5 separate regions of the Homo sapiens genome follow, and regions 1, 2, 3 and 5 are each linked to region 4. The links are contacts of gene promoters, found by promoter capture Hi-C in blood cells and fetal thymus (Javierre and others, 2016). All regions are on one chromosome and are shown on one strand. Each heading gives the region's core, a stretch centred on a gene start or on the middle of the fragment in contact. The rest is flanking DNA. Distances are from core to core; before and after follow the strand shown. Region 1 overlaps IER5 (immediate early response 5). Region 2 overlaps RGL1 (ral guanine nucleotide dissociation stimulator like 1). Region 3 overlaps MR1 (major histocompatibility complex, class I-related). Region 4 holds the start of DHX9 (DExH-box helicase 9). Region 5 overlaps TSEN15 (tRNA splicing endonuclease subunit 15).

What was found. The method cuts DNA at HindIII sites, captures the fragments that hold promoters and counts their contacts. A CHiCAGO score of 5 or more calls a contact.
Region 1: a fragment that was not itself captured here is called in contact with the fragment with the promoter of DHX9 in region 4 in 3 of 17 cell types (activated CD4 T cells, non-activated CD4 T cells and total CD8 T cells); the score reaches 6.6 in activated CD4 T cells.
Region 2: a contact is called between a fragment that was not itself captured here and the fragment with the promoter of DHX9 in region 4, in 1 of 17 cell types (total B cells). The highest score is 5.2, in total B cells.
Region 3: a fragment that was not itself captured here is called in contact with the fragment with the promoter of DHX9 in region 4 in 1 of 17 cell types (naive CD4 T cells); the score reaches 5.5 in naive CD4 T cells.
Region 5: a fragment that was not itself captured here is called in contact with the fragment with the promoter of DHX9 in region 4 in 1 of 17 cell types (total B cells); the score reaches 5.4 in total B cells.

What each region holds. Positions count from the first base shown.
Region 1 is chr1:181,090,194-181,094,110 of GRCh38, reverse strand. It overlaps IER5 (immediate early response 5), which reads right to left. Exons shown (of 1, transcript NM_016545.5): 1 at 1,211-3,917. Among named protein-coding and RNA genes, the nearest start is that of IER5, 3.5 kb to the right of the region's middle. RefSeq lists a silencer at 3,604-3,898 and an enhancer at 3,913-3,917. The HindIII fragment of the contact is 1,793 bases long and covers 1,764-3,556 here.
Region 2 is chr1:183,912,464-183,916,329 of GRCh38, reverse strand. All of the region lies in intron 15 of RGL1 (ral guanine nucleotide dissociation stimulator like 1), which reads right to left. Among named protein-coding and RNA genes, the nearest start is that of RGL1, 110 kb to the right of the region's middle. RefSeq lists an enhancer at 96-285. The HindIII fragment of the contact is 2,496 bases long and covers 226-2,721 here.
Region 3 is chr1:181,034,387-181,038,645 of GRCh38, reverse strand. The region is part of intron 1 of MR1 (major histocompatibility complex, class I-related); the gene reads right to left. Among named protein-coding and RNA genes, the nearest start is that of MR1, 2.5 kb to the right of the region's middle. The HindIII fragment of the contact is 3,097 bases long and covers 1-3,077 here.
Region 4 is chr1:182,837,936-182,842,428 of GRCh38, reverse strand. DHX9 (DExH-box helicase 9) reads right to left here and starts at 3,082. Exons shown (of 28, transcript NM_001357.5): 1 at 2,973-3,082. It overlaps DHX9-AS1 (DHX9 antisense RNA 1), which reads left to right and starts at 2,838. Exons shown (of 2, transcript NR_148933.1): 1 at 2,838-3,117. RefSeq lists a silencer at 2,763-3,192 and an enhancer at 2,616-3,457. The HindIII fragment of the contact is 6,331 bases long and covers 1-4,493 here.
Region 5 is chr1:184,055,140-184,059,056 of GRCh38, reverse strand. All of the region lies in intron 3 of TSEN15 (tRNA splicing endonuclease subunit 15), which reads right to left. Among named protein-coding and RNA genes, the nearest start is that of TSEN15, 5.4 kb to the right of the region's middle. The HindIII fragment of the contact is 2,494 bases long and covers 862-3,355 here.

The sequences.
Region 1 (3,917 bases), core at 1,411-3,910, 1.7 Mb after region 4:
TCAGTGATGAGTAGAAGGAATGGAAAGGTTATTTGGTGCCATAAAGAAAACCCAGTCACCTTGGAGGAGCAATTCAGGCTTTCCATCATTAGTTCCCATCGCCAAGAACAAATGATGGTTTCTAAAAGGGAAGACAGGGTTAAAACAACATGGTTGAGAAGTACATACTAGGCCGGGGGCAGTGGCTCACGCCTGTAATCCCAGCACTTTGGGAGGCCAAGGCAGGTGGATCACCGGAGGTCAGGAGTTTGAGACCAGCCTGGTCAACATGGTGAAACCCCGTCTCTACTAAAAATACAAAAGTTAGCCAGACGTGGTGGTGCATGCCTGTAATCCCAGCACTTTGGGAGGCTGAAGCAGGACAATCGCTTGAACTAGGGAGGCAGAGGTTACAGTGAGCTGAGATCACACCACTGCACTCTAGCCTGGGTGACAGAGCAAGACTCTGTCTCAAAAAAAAAAATACATTACTAACATTTATCCCTTTATTCTCTTTTTTCCCACCACCACACCTGGCTAATTTTTATATTTTTAGTAGAGACAGGGTTTCACCATGTTGGCCAGGCTGGTCTTGAACTCCTGACCTCAGGTGATCCACCTGCCTCGGCCTCCCAAAGTGCTGGGATTACAGGTGTGAGCCACCGCGCCCAGACTTTATTCCCTATTAATGTGATCTTCTTGGAGTACTTGTTGGAAAGCACTTTAAACATCTGGCTTTTACGCAGCAGTCAGAAGGTTTTTTTACACCCCAGAGCTAAGGTTAATTTGATCAAGAGACTAGGTCCCTCCCAGAGTGGTGAAGAAGTGGTTAGGTACTAAAACCATGGCATCGTTTCTAGTCACACTGCATCTGATTTGGTTGTGTGATAGCCCTAGGTTGGCATTGGGAAGGCTCTTGTCCAGAACCTATCAATAAGCATGTTTTAAACATTCCATGCGCAATAATTCAAGCAAAAATAACTTTATGGGCTACTTTTTTCTTTACTCATCCACAGAAAGCATTTGTATGTCAACAAGAACTTTGCTCCTTGCCTGTTTTCACTTCAGCTTACTCCTCCCTGAAAATAGAGTTGTTTGATACAATTGGAAAAATCATCCGGTTGGTGTGAGACATTCACAGCAACAAAACTATGTTGGTAGAACAAAGCTTCCTGACTGCCAAGTGTCCAGAGAAAAAGAGGAATAAAAGAACCCAGCATTCACACATAGGACCACTTAAAAATAGATTCTCCATTCTCCTCTTTTCTTACAAATACACACAAATCTTTGACCACAGTGTATCTGATTTATACACAGAATTAACTTCTACATTAACAATAATTAACAGTTGCGTGCTTATTACATATGAGGTACTCTTCTAAGAGCATTAACTCATTAATTTTCACAACCCTATGAGACAGATCCAATTATCCCAATTTTACATTTGAAAAACCTGAGGCACAGAGAGATGAAGTAACTTGTCCAAGGACCCACAGCTAGGTGGCAGAGCCAAGATAGAAAAACCCAAGCAGGCCAGGTTGTGGTGGCTCATGCCTGTAATCCCAGCACTTTGGGAGGCTGAGGCAGGAGGATTGCTTGAGGCCAGGAGTTCAAGACGAACCTGGTCAACATAGCTCACTTTATATTTACTTTTTATAATTAAATAAATAAATAAATAAAGGAAGACACCAAGCAGCCTGGCTCCAGGGCCCATGCTCTAACTACTATACTATACTGCTTCTGCAACAAAAAAGAGAATGATCTTTTCTAATTCCTACAAAGCTTTATCCTCCTATCAAGTATGCCAATTTACATTCTTTAAGCAGACACATGGACCCAGGTTCATCTTAATGTAAAACCAAGGATCAACTTTAGTCTCATCCAAAACACATCAGCTCTCTTAAACACACCAAACGTTACCCCCTTTAAAACATAAAATACACTGAGATCGCTGTTCAAGCATCATACTTTCTAACAACAGGAAATGTTTGCAGAATTAAGGCCCTGGACACCTTCTTCAGTTTAAGCAGTCAGCACTTGATGGATCTTTTGTAGCTGTAACAGAATTTAAGTAGCTACTTTCTGAAAGAAAAAGTCAGTTTAACAAGACCCTAATTTGAGAATGTTTAATTCTATAAATACATTATTATGGCGACAGAGCATAAAGTACAAAGTTCCCTATGCTTAAGGAACCACTAATAGATTTGCCGAAATATCAAGGCACGAGGCACTGGCCTATTCAGCTAAAACAGAAGTTCGTATAATTGGGAGTTAAGGCCAAGACACCATTCATATGCCTCTTATGCTCGAAGGCTATGACCTTTAAACCTTTGTCTTTCTTCAATCTCTCCCATCTTTTAAATACCCTATATACTCGTAAGTTGTTAGAAACCAGTACCATCTTTTAAAGTCCTGGCAACTGTACCGTATTTTAATAAACACCATTCCCTAATTGATTTGCTTCTGAAATAGATTACTGAATACCTTTCAAACATTGAACATGAAGAGACAAAAAACTCTCTTAATGGCAGTGATTTTAGTAAAATCGATGGATGTTTTGGCTATCATCACCTAAGTGTCTACCATGACCAAACACTGATGTCACCATTTAAGTAACAAAACAAATCAGGAAGTTTTGCTAAATGAGAACTAAATTTGCCTAGCCCTCCTTCCTTATCTGGTTTGATGCAAACAATTTCCCTCTCAGCAATATATTTACTTTCTAGATGTAAGAGAAAAACTGAAAATTTACATCCTGACATCCACTGTGATGCAGAGGTGGACCTGACAATTTGGACAAGTCAGTCTCTTTCATCTTCCTATGTCAGTTCGAATGGGCTTTTAAGGTAAACTACTATCTAAACTTTTTTTTTTTCAATTACAAAGCTAAAAGATGACCCGTATTAATAGCTTAACAGGAAACAAAGTTTTGCTGAAAAACATTTTTGTGGATAAGCGGGGCTTCAAAAGTTGGTTAAATTACTTAGTATTAGACACCCACATATTGGGTGACAAATTGGTCTAAACTGACCTTAGAAAAGGCAGTTGTAGTGGCAGGTTTCTAGAACCTGACAGGTCGCCGATATTAGTATCTAATAGCAGTCCTCTGATCTAGGAGGAAAAATTAAACGTGTCTCTCTTGATACTTAGTGGAGTCAGTAAACAATGTCCTCAGTCTGCGAATGACTGATACTAAGAACCACACCTTCAATTTTCTAGCTCAGGCCCTGGTTTCCCTCCTCCCACTTCCCTCCCAACCCAGGCAGGTTATTACAGACAAGCAGGCAGTTACGTTGCTTCAAAATATTTAATACGTGTTAGACACGTAGAAGTTACATTTTTATACAAAAATCAATACAACGAAGGAGAAAATACTGTACAAAAACCTTATCAGCTCCCCCAACCTTTATACAACAAAGACTGGAGTCACCATATCTACAAAACCATAAGGTCTTTCCACTTCGGGCTTCTGTCTGTAAACTCTCATTAAACACTTTTTAAAAGCACTGTGTAGTACTTCTGACCTAGAGCTTTTAAAAATATATCTTTTCTCTATAAACTCCATTATTTCCAAGCTTGAACTCTTCTGTGAAGTTCGTCAAGCTTTTTCTCCCCTGCGGGGAAGCAAAGGACCGTTAATACGCCCCTTTCCTAGAGTAATCACAGGATATAAACGTTTCTTCATTGGGAGAGAAAGGTGGGGAGGGACAGAAGGAATCCAAGTCTGTGCTCTTGGCTAAATCCCTCTCGTCTTAGGAAATCCTGTGCGGAAACGCCACTCCTGGCCCTGAAGCGGGTCTAGCTTTCCGGTGAGGGGTAGGTGTAAAGTCCCTCCCTCCCCGGAGAACGAATGGGGAACTCCCCGGCCCAAACCTTTTAGCCGCTTCCTTCTCCACGCAGCCGGCAGAGGAAAGTCCCTGTCTGCCCCCAATCTCTTA
Region 2 (3,866 bases), core at 224-2,723, 1.1 Mb before region 4:
CAGCCCACAGCACACATGTGTCTCATCCCTGGTGTAAGTACTCTGAGTCCCCATCAGTGGTAGATGCCTATCGGTGACTCAGTGTGACCTAATCACTCTATAAGCACGTGAGGCAAAGCAGTTCTATTTCCCTAGGTTTTAGCTGTTCTTATAGAAGTTAACCAGCAGGTGGCAGCAGACACCAGAAACTGGAGGCAATATGGGTTCCCAAAGAAGTCAGAAGCTTACGGGGCTGGAGGAAAGCCTTGCCAACGCAGTTGATTCAGTCCTACTGCAGTCAGATTTCGTAGTGAGAGAGAAAGTTCTGTATTTTTAGAAGTTTCTAAGAGAAGTACCCCAGATTATACGGCTCTGCATTGAATATTAGTGCTAGAAAGGCCTTGGACATCAACTAGTCCCATACCTGTTCTGCTGAGGAACCTGAGACCCAGGGAGAAAACTGGGGCTCCAGGTCCACACAGCTAGTTGACAGCACCCCTAGAACAGGAACCCAAGCTCCCTGATTCCCACTGTCGAGTTCCCAGAGCAAGCACATGGCCAAGGCTCAGCCTGTGGCTGATGACAATAAGATGAATCAACATAGTATGCTGCTACCTCGGTATGTTTAGTACTGTGAGGCTTATCATGAACTTTCATATTATCTTATCCCATTTTAATTCCACAACTGTCTTGTGAACAAAATGCAGAGCATTATAAAGACGAGGAGAATAAGATTCAGAATATAAAAGTGACTTGCTCAAGGGAAATACAGCCTTTAAGCAGCTTCACCACTTTCCACATTTGCTAGTAGAGCCAACTGTATACATTTTCATGATGTGTATCAAGGACAATTAAGAAATGGAGTACTACAGTTAATATGCTTTTCTGATTAACTACACATTTCTCATCCATGCAATACCAATAACCAAAGAAAGAAGTTATTGGAAGAGGTACTTTTAAAAATCATTAAATTGAACCATTTAAAATACCCATTATTATTGTAGAAAATTATAAAGAATTTCCCGGAATGACTTAAGCTAAATTATACCATGTTAATCCTATAAAATATTCTGGAAGTCATTTATAAAATAAATAACATTTCTTTCATATTTATCTGCCTTTCCATGGAAACAGTATAGAAGTTGAGCTTTCTGGTTATCAGGCTTCTGATTAAAATGGAGTCTATTATCTTATTTCCTGTAGATTTCCTCCTGTGGCATAATTATACATTCAGTTCTATTGCACAGTTAGTTTACAGCCAGCCAGCTGATGTGACAATTCTCATGGGTAGGGGTCTGATTGTGGCTCTATCATAATATGGTTTAGTTTTTGTTTTGGTTTTTGGGTTTTTTTCTTCCTTATGTTCCCAAATGAATCAACTTAGTGGCTCAATTTGAGGACTAACTGATGATAGATAAGTTAATAGCATAAGTTTCTTTGCAGATATATTAGTTAAGGGGGTGCATTTTCCAATTATTCATTCAATTTTTTCGCCTTCATGTTCCTCTATCCAAACTCTATTTCCTTTGTTAGATTTTTCTATGATTCTAGTGACATTTATAGTTAAGATAAAGCCTAGAATATGCCTGGGTTATAGCAGCTCTAAACAGACTGCCTGATGAGCCCCCAAATTCCTATTGAGAATTTAAGAAGTGAGGAGCAAGTGCAAAAATCAATATTTAGAAATCATGATCGGGGAATGAAGAAAGGAATGCAAATAAATTACACTTCACCCTTAAGAGCAACCTCACAGTGCAGCCTGTGGAAAAGGAAGAATGACAGTCTGGAGGACTTTTGGAGAAGGCGGCTGTCACAGGCTCTCAGGTCAGGAAGGAAGTGTGGAGGTCAGCTCAGTCCAGCTATGTGCCAAGCAGGAGAATCACGAGCCTTTCTAGCTAATATGCAGGGATTGTGCAGTCCAGGAGCTACTTGCATCCAAGTGAATCACTGATGTTTAAGAAATGTATGACTCTGAGAAAGGTTCATCCAAAGAATAAAGAGCCATGACTTCTGCAAGAATTTAAAAAGCCAGTCTGATGAGGGATGAGACAAAAAAGATGAAGCAAGGGATGTGCAGGAGAAAGCACACTGGGCTTCTGCATAGTTTTAAAAGGTACCATTTGGACCAATGTACATTTCCACTATGCCACAAGGTGTGACTGTGATTCCATCTCCTTCCTGGAGAGACAGGGAGAAATCCCACAATAATGTGGGCAATACCTCAGTTATTACTTTCCTACAATGTCTACCATCAGAAATGGAGCCTATAAAACCTCAGAGGCTGTGAAAAAGTGAATGATGAGACTGCATTCCAGATTTTGACAAAGCTAATTTGTATGTCAAGTCACGAAGAATGACTACATCCCGGGTTGAGGAAAAATGCCTTTTGAGAGCATGGCCAGTCCGTAGGTGTCCACGAAGGCTTTCTTTCAATATTTAGAGCATGAATGATTGTATCCCCTGGATTTCAAAGCAGAAAGCTAAGAAATCCAACTAGAGCAGCAAATTAGTCATCTCAGTTTGATGAATCCTGAATATGATGCTTTTCCTGGATTGGCTACATTATGACAAAGTCACTTGAGGGTTCCAGGATTACCACTGTTGTTTTAACACCATGTGAAGCAACACACATGTCCCCTTGAAGAGCAGCAGATATAAACCAAGGGATGAAACCATTGCCAACATTCTACCTTACTGACCTAACCATAAGCTAAGGAGCCAGAAGTCACTATTGAGTAAGCTTGGTTAGCCAGAAACCTTCCCCAAATGGTGCAAATTCTAGTTATGTCATAGTTGACTTTCTGATCCAAACCCTTCAACCAACAGATTGAAGCAGATGTGTACAGAAGATTAACACTGATATTGGTGGGGTGCGGTGGCTCATCCCAGCACTTTGGGAGGCCGAAGTGGGTGGATCACCTGAGGTCAGGGGTGTGAGACCAACCTGGCCAACATGGTGAAACTCCATCTCTACTAAAAATACAAAAATTATGCGGGCATGGTGGCACATGCCTGTAATCCCAGCTACTCGGGAGGCTGAGGCAGGAGAATCCCCTGAACCCAGAAGACAGAGGTTGTAGTGAGCCAAGATCGTACCACTGCATTCCAGCCTGGGCAACAGAGTAGTGAGACTTCATCTCAAAAAAAAAAAAAAAAAAAAAAAAAAAAGAAGACTGGTCTTAATTAAGATCTTAAGATTAAGATATTTTGGTTTTTAAATTTTTATTTATGCAGTCACAGAAAATAGAAACTCGACGGAAATTCTTTTATCACCTCTCATCAGTTTCCTTTTTTCCAACATGGGAGAATGTATCCTTGTTACCAATCCCTCATCTTCCCCTGCAGCTGTGCCCTTTGCACTGTGATTTCAGAGTTCCTCCCACTAAAACTGGAGCCTATTTCTCTGCTTCATTTACTTATGTGGAATGTGGCCACATGATTACTTTAGCCAATAGAATGTTGGTTGATACGACTCAAGTAAAGGCTTGACATATGCTTGCGAGTGGGCTTGCCCTCTTGCTTGTCCGTCTTAGCATGCTAAGGGCATGCCCTGGGTAGCCCGTTACTCCAACAATAATGAGAGGCAAGTGGAACAGACCTGGACCAAATCTGTGGCCTAGTGTCAAGCCCAACCTAGATCAGCCAACCAGCAGATACATAAGAGAGATAAATAGTGGTTGTTTTAAGTCACTGACTTTTGGAGTGGCATGCAATGCAACATTATTGTGATAAATGCTTGGCTAAGACAAAACATGGCACCAAGAACCTGACACATCTCCATCTCTGACTTTTTGCTCTTTCTAAGAAGTCCTACTTCCCCTAAATAACTCCAGTGCCTTAAGAGGTGGGTATAGAACAATATTTCAAAGGCCAAATGAATAAACGAA
Region 3 (4,259 bases), core at 280-2,779, 1.8 Mb after region 4:
CCCTGGATTATCACTGCTCTCTCCTGCCCCCTTGTGTCAAGGATGACTCACTGCCTCTGATTTCCCAGTCCCTGGGGCCACAGGCTCCAGACCTTCCTACACACAGGTGGCCGTGAGTCCTGATTGGATAACCAGGTCAACACAGTCTGATTATTTATTGGCTCTCTCAAGAAGTCCAATGCCTTAATAAGGTCAAAATGATTATGATTCCTGGGAATGACTCTTTAGAATTTCGAGCATCGTGGGAATGAGGGGAGAAGTAGGTGGCAATATTTTTAGTTAAGGGGACCTTTGGACACATCTCAGGCCATGTTCATGGATGGTTCTATGTGCAGCAAGAACCATTAGTCCCCTCTCCTAATGACATGTCTAACTAACTACAGGAACTTAGAGCATAAAAGTGGCGACTGTGACAAGTTTGGCTTGTGAGCTACTCTTCTGAGGCTACCCTTTTGAAGGTTGCCAATGTCTCACTTCATATAGGTATATTCTTTTCTGAATGTCCAATAAGCACAGTCCTAGCTGCTGGAAACAGAGCAATGAACACATGAAAGTCCCAGCCCTGTGAGATAATTTCTAGACAGGAGATTGGCAATAAATACATATATAATACAAGGTCAGGTGGAGATAAAGATTATGAAGAAAAGTAAAGCAGAGAAAAGAGAGTGTGGAGAGGAGAAGGCCTGATCTTTTAGATAGAGGGACCACAGCAGGTGGCATTTGAGCAGAGATGTGAATGGAGTAAGAAAGTGAGCCCTGTAGGACTATGTGGAGTTTTGGAAAACGAATGAATGAGCTCTGGTGTCTTTTTTCCCTCAGTACTCTCTGTACACAATGATGACTATATGTCTTATGTTTCCCAGAAAATCCCGATTTTATAAATTTTATTTTTCTAAAATGATCCTTTGAAGTTATAACAAAATGTGACTTAATATGTATACTCTTGAAAGATTTTCCCCGATAAATATAAATTCATACATCAGAAAAAACATCCTTTGTCATCTTTCTCAATTTGAGTTCCCTAAAATAAGTGTTCAAAGAGTCATGTGTTTGATCTTTAACTTAGGCTCCTTTCCTCCAGCTCTTAGCAATACTGTGGGGTAAGAGGATTGGGGTCAAGTGAGAATAGACAGATATTTCAACTAGTCAAAAGAAAAATCTACAAATTAGTTGAATTTCTCAAGTTTAGATAGATTCAATGCCAATTAAGAAGAGGGCCTTAGGGGAGTGAAACATTGTCTTGGAGAAATTTCTATGGCATATACCTTGGCAACAGCTCCATGGAAACAGACTGAAGTCTATCTAATAAAGTCTAAAGAAAAAGCCCATATTTTCTCATGTTAACTCTTTGAACTCAAGGTCACTTCTAAGCAGATAATATGCAAGTCTGTTTTTTAACAGTAACCCAGTTGGCAGCTTAGGGAGCTTATCCATCATCAGACCTCGCCTGTGAAGGACTCCACCATTCATGAAGTAGATTGATATAGCAGATTTATACAGCCATAAAATTATGAGTAATATCAAGAGACTGACCTTGGTTATGTCGAGATGAAACATACAAATCACATATGGCAATGCATGAGAAATCTCATGCCAGCCCCCAGTCTGATTACACCCACCCATATCGCCAATTCACAGTTTCACACAGGCTGAAATGAAGAACAAGATGAGTTGTAAAAGCATGAAACACCTTTTTAATACAAATCCTGCAACTACAGTAAGCCACAGTTTTGAATTTGCAGTCGTTATTACTGCCCGAGCTCTCTATGGCTCCCAGTCAAATAACTGTGATTTCTTAGGGACATTACCTCCGAACATAAATTCACTCAGCAAACATTTACTAAGTGCCTGTTGGGCACTAGGTATACCAGAGAAATAAGAAAAAAATGAAGATATCTCTTTCTGTCTTTAAGGAGAGCCTCAAAGAGAAGATTTTTGTAAATGGAAAATTACAGAACTGTGAACAGGAGCCATGGGAGCACAAAGGAAGGAGGAGTCAACTGCAGGCTGTGGAGTTGATGAAAGCAACACACTGAAAGTGATATTGGAGTTATGTTGACATTTCCTGGAGTAATGACCCACAACCCTGCAGTATCTCTTCCCCGTGTTTCCCCATCTATTACTGGTATATAGCTCCCACTCAGGGCTAGCACTAGGCATAAATATCAAGTAGACTGAGTCTTCTTTCATAATCTCATATCCTTTTCCAGCCAATATCCCTCAAAGCCCAGGAATGTTCAGTTAGGGTCCTAGCAGGAAACAGCCTTCAAGCCAGATGGGTCATGTGAGGAGACCTTAATGAAGGGACTCCTTGCAGAGATATGGTCAAGGTTAACGGAACAAACAAGGATGATGGGCATCTGCAGGCTAACAACTATGGGAAGCCATTATCACCCCTAGGGCTTAAGAGATAAGAATAGCAAATACCGTTACTGAAGCCCAATGGGAGCTAGAACCATGAAGAAGGGGTTATTCAGGGAAGACAGCATTACAGAAGAACATAGCTACTGCCAAAGACATCACAGAAAGTGGGGAAGGAGCAAGAAAGATGTATCCCAGCCTCTCTTTCCTCCCTGCTCTCTGACATCTCTCCTTTCAGTGTCTCCCATTGTATGAACCCAAGCAGAAATCAGCTTGCAAGAGAGTCTAGGTGATGCAGTCTAGCAGTCAGCCTCAAGGACACAGAACAGAACAGAGAAGGATGCACTCTAAGGAGTCAGAAGGAGAACAGCCAGCACCAAGTGACCTTCCCTTGCCTTTATAACTTACTTGTTTTATTTCCTGTCCCCCCAATTATCAAAGTGACAAGTCTTCACACCCAAAGGAGCAATGACATTGTGGAACAGCCCTGGACCGAGGGCCAGAAGATCTGCAGTCTCCTTCAGGTTGCTCCTTATGTGAGCGTGGTCACTCTCTAGGCCTAGAGAAAAATCTAGGCCTCATCTTTAAATGGGGATATTTTCTTCACCTACTACAAATAGTCAGTGAGATTGTCATAGGAGATAATATGTTTAAGGAATATTATTCCATATTATTGGAGAGTTCTTTGAGAATCACATGCAGGTAATATATAAGCTTTATTATTTCCAAAAATATCACCCTTTGCCTCTCTCCTCCTTTCCTCTTTCATCTTCTGCCTCTTACCCTCACCCCCAATCTTTCCCATAAATGATGACACTTTCTGGATTAAATTTTCATGGAAGCAGAGACTATGTTTGTCTTGTTCGCTGCCATATCCCCCAAAGTGCCTGGCACATAGTAGGCCATCAATCAATATTTGAACAATTAATATATGGATTTTTTTTTTTTGAGATGGAGTCTCACTCTGTCACCCAGGCTAGAGTGCAGTGGCATGATCTCGGCTCACTGCAACCTCCGCCTCCTGGGTTCAAGTGATTCTCCTGCCTCAGTCTCCCGAGTAGCTGGGATCACAGGTGCGCACTGTGCACAGCTAATTTTTTGTATTTTTAGTAGAGATGGGTGTGCCGAGCTAATTTTTTGTATTTTTAGTGAGATGGGGTTTCACTATGATGGCCAAGCTGGTTTCAAACTCCTGACCTCAAGCGATCCGTCTGCCTCGGCCTCTCAACGTGCTAGGATTACAGGTGTGAGCCACCACTCCCAGCCATATGATTTAAAATTTTTTTATTTGTATAAATTTATGATGTACACATGCAATTTTGTTATAGCATAGATTGTGTAGTGGTCAAGTTGGGGCTTTAAGGTATCCATCACCCAAGTAACACACATTGTACCCATTAAGTAATTTCTAATCATCCACCCCCCTCGCCCTTCCAAATCTCCATGGTCAGTCATTCCACTCTCTATGTGCATGGGTGATTTGAAAGAACTCCTTCCTCTCATGTTCATCAGTCACACCTATGGTGGTGGCCAAGTCTAAGTTCTGGACACTGCCCACCAGTACCAGTCCTCAGCCCAGGGAGCAAGTGATTAGGGCAGAGAAGCCTGGTGGTTCTAGCCCATGGGCCCTTTCCCCTATTTGAGGCAACAGAAGGCATTTGCTTCCCCAGTGACTTGAGCTCCCCGAATAATGAAAAACTCTCCCTTCTACTTGATTAATACTTCTCACAGTCAGTAAACAAACCCAGAGCCATGGTTTTATCTTTCTTGGATCTTTTATTACAGGTAGGGCTTGTGTTGAGGAAAAACATAAATAAACCTGAACAATGGATCTACTCCACTGTTAATGCCCCTGAAACTCTGACTACATCCTCATGAGACTCTGGAAGTTAGAAAAG
Region 4 (4,493 bases), core at 1,833-4,332:
AAGACTCCCCATAAATTTTAACGACATAATTGGAACGTTTATATGTTGTAAGAAAAAGGATACAAAACGGTATGATTTGAACTTCATGAAAAGTACATATACATGATCAAGACTGGAAAGAAATACCCCCTAAAATGGTTATCTTTGGGGACTAAGAGTGATTTTTATCTTTTCTTACAAAGTATTTTATATAAGGCCCTATATTCTACAACGGGCACCTTATATATTTAACTCAGTTCATCCTCACAACAATGGCACACAGATATGGTGGGTACTATCATTGTCTTTTCAGGAAGTAAGAAACTAAGATTTAAAAAAGTAACTTCCAAGTCACCCACCGTGGAGGCCTAAATTCAAATCCAAACTACTATATATTAAGAAAGTTATCATTTGCATATAAATTCAATGTTTTATTCTCATTCTGATTATGACCACTAGCATATTGTCCCCAAAGTTGTAGGCCATGTATTAATAATATAATAAAGTTCAAATACATTAAGCACTCAGTACTGAAGACGGTAACCTATTAACTTAAATGTTCTATACCAAATCTCTCCTTTAGGCCTTTTTATTAAAATTTGAGGATATTAAAGTTTTCTTGAAGTGCAACAAGTCTATAAAATACCACAAGATATGGAGCCTATCAGTCTAAATGCTGAGTCTAAACTGTAAGCAAGATATGAGACCACATTTATAACCAGAGAAAATAAAATATGCTATGAATTTAGTTTGCTGTGAGAAGAAATCCCATTACCAGCATTAAACCGTCTGCTTCACGTTTCACGTTTGATGCATTTTGTTAGCACCTAAGTCTAACGTCATCAAACTGCACCCCTAGCATAAATTTGTTACGTCTGAGTGGCCACAGTCTAACTCTGGTCATCCATTTGGCGAAGGGAATGTCCTATTAACAAAAAAGCCGTGGAAAGCTGAAAATGTTTATCTGGAAATTCCACCTCGTGAATAATTAAACAACAAGCCCTCATGGTGAATGAGTAATATGAAATACGAAGGACTATACTATCAAACTCCTGTCTCCCTAGTCTCTTACAACCCCATAATGTTCAATACCAACTACATGCTATCGATGCCCAAATACATATATTTAAACTTTAGTCTTTTCTCTCTTTTTTTTTTTGAGACGGAGTCTCGTTCTGTCGCTCAGGCTGGAGTGCAGGGGCGAGATCTTGGCTCACTGCAACCTCCGCCTCCCAGGTTCAAGCGATTCTCCTGCCTCAGCCTCCCGAGTAGCTGGGACAACAGGCGCCCGCCACCACGCCCAGCTAATTTTTTGTATTTTTAGTAGACACGGGGTTTCACCGTGTTGGCCAGGATGGTCTTGATCTCCTGACCTCTTGATCGGCCCGCCTCAACCTCCCGAAGTGCTGGATTACAGGCGTCAGCCACCGCGCCCGCCCGTCGTTTCTCTTTAAAGTCCAAAATTAAGTTCATCCAACTGTGGCACTAACTCACCCATTTGCATGCTAACTTGGCATCTCAGTCAAAACAGAATTTTAAATTTCCCCTCAAATCTGTTCCAACACCCTACCCCTACATTTCGGTTTCCATAAACGGTACGACATCCACCAAGTTACTCCTGGCACAAGTTGAGAGTCGTCCACTCCCTTAAGATTCTCCATAGCTATCCCTTGTAGAACCCTTAATGTGTGTCAAACAATATCCATAATAGATCATCTAAATGGAACTATTTTACTTAATCCTTAGTAACCTTGTACAGGTAAGATCACTATCCCTTTAGAGAAGGGGAAACTGAGACAAAGAATATCTTGCTTCAGGAAGACAGAGCTCCTAATTATAAGAGCAAGAATTCGGGCGGGCGCGGAGGCTCACGCCTGTAATCCCAGCACTTTGGTAGGCCAAGGCAGGCGGATCACGAGGTCGAGAGATCGAGACCATCCTGGCCAACATGATGAAACCCCGTCTCTACTAAAAATACAAAAATTAGCTGGGCGTGGTGGCGCGCGCCTGTAGTCCCAGCTACTCCGGAGGCTGAGGCAGGAGAATCACTTGAACCCGGGAGACCGACGTTGCTGTGAGCCGCCATCGCGCCACTGCACTCCAGTCTGGCGACAGAGCGAGACTCTTGCAAAAAAAAAAAAAAAAAAAAAGGCGCAAGAATTCCAGAAAACGTAGCCTGACTCCAGATCTACTACCTTCCACCACTACGCATTTCTGCTTCAAAATACGTCCCCTATCCATTCGTTTCTCCCCATCTCTCCTGCCACCACTACTGCACACCCGGGCTAGTGAAATATTGTCCTACACGGTTTTTGTTTCCACTCTTGCCACCCTAAAACCCATTCTCCTTTGAAGGCCTTCTCGCCACACTCCAGTCACATGGCCTGCTTTCAGCTCCCGCCCAGTTTCTGCCCTTAAGCGATAACTAATCCCTTCCGCTTCTGCAGGCTCTGCTTTTCCTTCGCGTTGGCCGAGGTTATCAGCTCAAAGCCTCCCTCCTTCGAGACGCCTTACCTCGCTATACTAGCCAAAGGCGCTCTCCCTTTACATTCTTCAATTTTTTTTCCTCTACCCACAAGGCCTGCACGACGGCGCCAGTTATTCGTGGCTTGAATGAATGAAGAGCCCTAGGCCAGTGGCGCCCCGGCGGCAACCACCACAGGCGAAGCACCCCCTTCCCTCAGCCGCCGCGGTGCCCCGGCGTACGCAGGCCAGAGGAGGAAGCGCGCTTTGCCTGCTAGAGGCAGCAGCGGGAAACGCTGGGCGGAGGAGAGGGGAGGGGGCCACAGGCTGCCCGGACGGCGCAAGCGCATCGCGGCGAGGCGCGCACGCAACCCGCAATCCGGGGACCCGCGGGCGGCTCGTCCCTTCCCCCACCCCCAGCCGCCGCCGCCGCCCGCGCTTCGCAACAAAGCCGGCTGCGGAGCCATGGTCCACGGCGCCCGCCCGCGACCCCGCCGCCCCGCATGGTAGCCGGAACGTCTCTCCCTTACCAGCCTTCGCTTCCTGGTGCCCAGCTCTTAGGACCGTGTGTGACTCTGGCCTTCTACCGAGACAACAGAGAAACGCACAGCAACTCGCATGGAGGAATCGGCGAAATGGCTCCGACCGCGGCGCTAGGGGGCGGGGCCAGCGAGCGTACGCATGCGCAGAGCGCGTGCCAGGGCGGGGGATGGCGAGGGCGCGCCAATGGAGGGGGCGGGGCTCAGCAACCTCGCGGCGCGGAAGGGTTTCGTTGCTAGGGAGATGGGCTGAGCCGGGCGGGCATCGCGCCAGACCTGCTACTCTGGATAATCCACTCTCCTGGATAATCCACTACCCTGGATAATCGGCTGCCCGCTTTTGCGCATGTTAGGGAGTTGACGGCCTGTAGCATTCTGATGCAGCAAAATATTTCGCAGGGTCTGTCATAGGGATCTCCGGTGAGAGGAGGTTCCCTTCGAAGGCAGAACTGGAAACCTTGCTGCTAACTTGGTAGGGTTGTTGAGATAATTACATGAGATGGCATATGAAGGGCGGCTTAGTTCAATACCTGGCATGTAGTAGGTGTTCAGTGGGCGTAGTTACCGGATTGATTCAGATAGTCTGAACGCCAGTGTCTCTTGAAAGAAATAAACTGGCCGGGCGTGGTGACTGTAATCCCAGCACTTTGGGAGGCCGAGGTGGGCGAATCACTTGGGGTCAGGAGTTTGAGACCAGCCTGGCCAGCGTGGTGAAACCCCGTTTCTACTAAAAAAAAAAAAAAAAATACAAAAATTAGCCGGGCATGGGGGCGGGCGCCTGCAATCCCAGCTGCTTGGGTGGCTGGGCGGGCTCCTGCAATCCCAGCTACTCGGGAGGCTGAGGCAGGAGAATCGCTTGAACCCCGGGGTCGGGGGCGGAGGCGGAGGTTGCAGTGGGCCGAGATCACGCCATTTTCTGGGCGAGAGAGCGAGACTCCGTCTCAAAAAAAAAAAAAAAAACCATGAAAGAAATAAGCTCAGTGAAGGCGGGCATTCTGCCTGGCTAACGCAGGTCGCTCCTTGCCGTGCCTGGAACATTACTGTAAGTGCTCAGCAAACTACTTTAAGGTAGGAATAAAATCTGCAAGGTTGCTTTTGTTTAAATTGGATAACCTTTTGTGTTCCAAGTCTTTGGAGTAATTTTGTGTTCCAAGTCTTTGGAATAATTGTGTCCTTAATTATTATACTAGTCACTGTTAAATTTTGAAACTCCAGTGCGTCCCATGAAGGTAATGATACAAAACATTTCCAGCTGGGATTGTTCCAGGGAATCCAGACTAATCAATTATCTGGGCTCATTATATCTATGGATCTTTATTTTTCACCTCTTTCCTTATGTTTTTCTTAATCCTTCTAGCTGATAGTGATCACTCCCTTTAAAACTGTCATTCTTAAAATCAGAACAACATAGTTTATCATTTACTTATTATTTTCTTCATGTGATTGTTCTCCTTAATTAAGAATAAAATCATTGAAGGAAAGACCTTAATTTTTTTTTTTTTGTACCCTTCA
Region 5 (3,917 bases), core at 859-3,358, 1.2 Mb before region 4:
CAATTACCAAAAAAAAAAAAAAAAGTATTTTCTAAGCGAATATTCAGTGCTAGAATACTACTTTCATGAGGATGTCATGAAAGTATTTGTTATCATGGTATCCCCAGCACCTAGATCATTGCCTGACACATAAGAGTCACTCAATAAATAATTGTTAAGACCAAAAAGCCCAAGCAATATTATCTGACAAATAATAATATTTAAAAGTGAAAACAGAATCGTTAATTTATGTAGATGTTTTATCACTGAATAAGTAAAAGCTGTTTTCCCTCTTAAATAAAAAGTATTTTTTCTTTCATGGTGAGTTGCCCTCACATCTTCCCACCAAATACTTTTAGGACATGTCCCAATGAATTTCTTTGCTATACAAGGTTATCAGAGACTCAACATCAATCATTTTCTTCTCTGTGTTACTAACACAGAAAAATTCCCACATTAACTATGAAAGGCTGGAATTGCAGCATTACTGTTAGATATATAACATTTTATATTATAAAATACACTAAAAGTAAAAATAGATAAAAGTATGCCTACTACCTAAAAGACTGCCCTGTTAAAGACTGAATAATGAAATCACACATACACACATATACACCCACACATTTCCATTTGTTAAAAAGTTATTTGCATAGTTTGAGTTGAGAAAATGTTATGCACTAAAAGGCATATAAATCTAGTATGTATCAGGCCTCATTTGTGCTACATTCTATATTAGTATTCTACTGTATAATATAGTTAAGAATATTTATATAAAAACAAGACATAAAGATTTAAGCTCTCTCAGTTATTAAATGCAACAGCATCAAAATGGCTTACCAAGTTATCATTCCAACTAATTCTACTTGAAGAAGAAAACAAGCTTTAGCCATTCAAGCTAGAAAAGCATTAATTACCACCTGGAAAATACTAGAAATTAACAATGGAAACAAATTTGTACTTCTAGACTTATGAAATGATTTTGATTAAAATAGGCTATTGCTTTCATTAATTTTATTTTTTAGGAATAAATGCAGGTTAATTTCAAATAGTAGCTCCTTGTCCAAACAAATAATATAACATTAATACTAGCTAGGACAATATTTGTTACAGTAATTAAAAGACAGAAGTAATGAGTTCTGAGGAATGAATTAAGACTCTTGGATATAGGATGGCTTGGAAATCATGCTAGTAAAAACCGGAAAGTACTAGCGATTAAATCTGATGTCAATGCTAACAACTATTTGTAATTCTCAAACACAGAGAAAACAGTAAGGAGCTTCTCAAAGAAGCATATGAATAGACTGACATATTAAAAAACAATTCTCATTATGAATAATAAATACAAAAAATACTTCATAGAAATCTGCAAATTTAGTTTAATATGGCTTTATGAAATATGCACAATGAAAATAACCAGTTACAGCAGCTTTAATTTAGAAGGGATCTTGCATGTACTGGTAATCTAAATCCCTCAACAACAAAATAAGACGAGGAAACTGAAACCCAGAGAAATTAGGTGTGTTGCTAAACATCAAACAAAATGTTAAGTGTCAGTCCCAAGACTAGAACCCAGGTCTTAAGACTTTATAGTCTGGGGCTCTTTCTACTAGACTGCTATGTATTCAGTCATAGTCAGCTAGAAAAAATGTTAAGTATTCATCAACGGTATTCATGCTGGAATTTAAGAGGCTCTGCTCTTTTCCCTACTTATATGCCACCCAAATAGAGCTGTGTTTTCATTTGTTCATTCTTCCCATACCCCACTCTCAGAGGTTTACAGCACCCCTTTACATGCTCAATATTACTCTCCTCCACTATCCTCTTGAATCCATCCTTCCTCATCTCTCAAGAATCTTGCTCCATCAATAATTGTCATCTCTTTTCTATTTTCAGACTTTCTGTAGGACAGCTCACGTGGCAGCTGGCTTCCTTTATAGTAAGCAAGAGAGAGTGCCCAAGATAGAAGCCACAGTCTTTTGTAACCTAATCTTAGAAGTTACATTCCTATCATTTTTGCCAAATTTTATTCATTAGAAAGAAGTCACTGAGTCCAGGTCACACTCAAGGGAAGAGAGTTACATAAGGGAGTGAATACCAGAATTAGGAGAAGCCATCTTAGAAGCTGCCTGCTACAGCTTCTAAAGAAGAAATGCATAAGGGAGGCTTGCTAACCAGATACCAAGACTTCTTACCAAGCAAGCGATTAAGAGATATGGTATTGGCAAAAGGACAGATAAACTGGCTAATGGAATATAATAGAGAACCCAGAAACAAATTAATGCATGTTTGGAACTTTGGAAAGTAGCAGAAGTGATATGTCAGATAGTGAGGAAAGGAGGGACTATTCAGTAAATGGAGGTAGAAAAAGTGGTTATCCACATGACAATGGTATCCCTAACCGCCTCTCACACCATTAAAAACAAGAACAATAGAACTCTTAGTGAAAATATAAGTATTTTTTAGACCGTTAGATAGAAAATATTTCTTAAACTAGACACAAAGACGTTGATTATAAAAGATGGATAAATATGATTATATTCAAATTAAGAACTGTTACTCATTGAAAGACATCTTAAGACAGTGAAAGACAGACTTAAAAACTGGAAAACACAATAAAAAAACTATTAGGTCAAGAATATATAAAGAATTCATACAAGTCAATGAGAAAACTAAAAACAACCCAACAGGCAAAAGATATGAACAGATATTTCTTATAAATAATACATATATAAAGAAATATTCAGTATTATGAGTAATAAGGGAAATGTAAATTAAGACCAAAATAAGAATAATCCATTCCATTGGCAAAAATTTAAAAGTCTGACAATACTAAATGTGAGAGACAATACAGCTCCAAAGGATCTTATTTACACTGCAGGTGAAAAGTAAATTGAGGCAACCACTTTGAAAATAGTTTGAAATTATCTCCTAAAGTTAAACATTAGCAACACTCCATCATCGAGGGAGTGGATGTAAAAATGGTGGTATAATCACACAATGGAATGTTATGTGGCAGCTCAAAAAATGCACAAGAATGGATGAATTTTAGTAATATAATATTAAGTGTATAAGGTCAGCCTTAAAAGATAAGATTTTTTAATTAAAGTTAAAAACATCTAAAATTTAAAAATTCCCAATGTACATGGAATTCAGAATGAGTTACCTCAGGTCAGTGAAAGCACGTTAAGGAAGGGACTTATAAGATTAGATGTTAGTTATTATCAAGAATCTAGTTTTGCTTTGGGTGATGGGTACAGAGATACTTATTACATTATTAAAAATAACTAAGTAAATAAATAAAAACCAAGCATGAACTAATAATGAGAGTATGTCATGAAACAAAGACATGTTTAATCCAATGCTGTGTACCTAAGCTTTTTAAAAAAAGGTCCTAAAAAAAGTCTCTTTTTTAAAGCTTTTAAAAAAAGCTACATGAAAATTTGATTTCAGCTTGCATGTTAATCATGCTTTTCACCAACTGCTATATAAAGTATAATTTGTATTACATGGTACATCTTATAACAGCTGTTATTTCATATGTAATGGTCTTGCTTCCTTACCAAGAATATAAATATTTCTACCATACATACTGTCTCTGAAAAAGTACTGACCATAGAGTAAGTGCTAAATAAATACTTGTTGAATGCTTGATATACTTTGTATATTTGTTCCTGCCCAAATCCCATGTTGAACTGTAATCCCCAATGTTGGAGGTGGGGCCTGGTGGGAGATGTTTGGGTTATAGGGGTAAATCCTTCATGGCTGAGTGCTGTCTTCAGGACAATGAGTTCTCGTGAGATCTGGTCATTTAAAAGTGTGTGGAACCTCCCCCTCAACACTCTCTCTCACTCCTGCTTTTGCCATATGATGTGCCTGCTCTTGCTTCACGAACTTCCTCCATGATTATAAGCTTCCTGAGGCCTCCCTAGAAGCCGAGT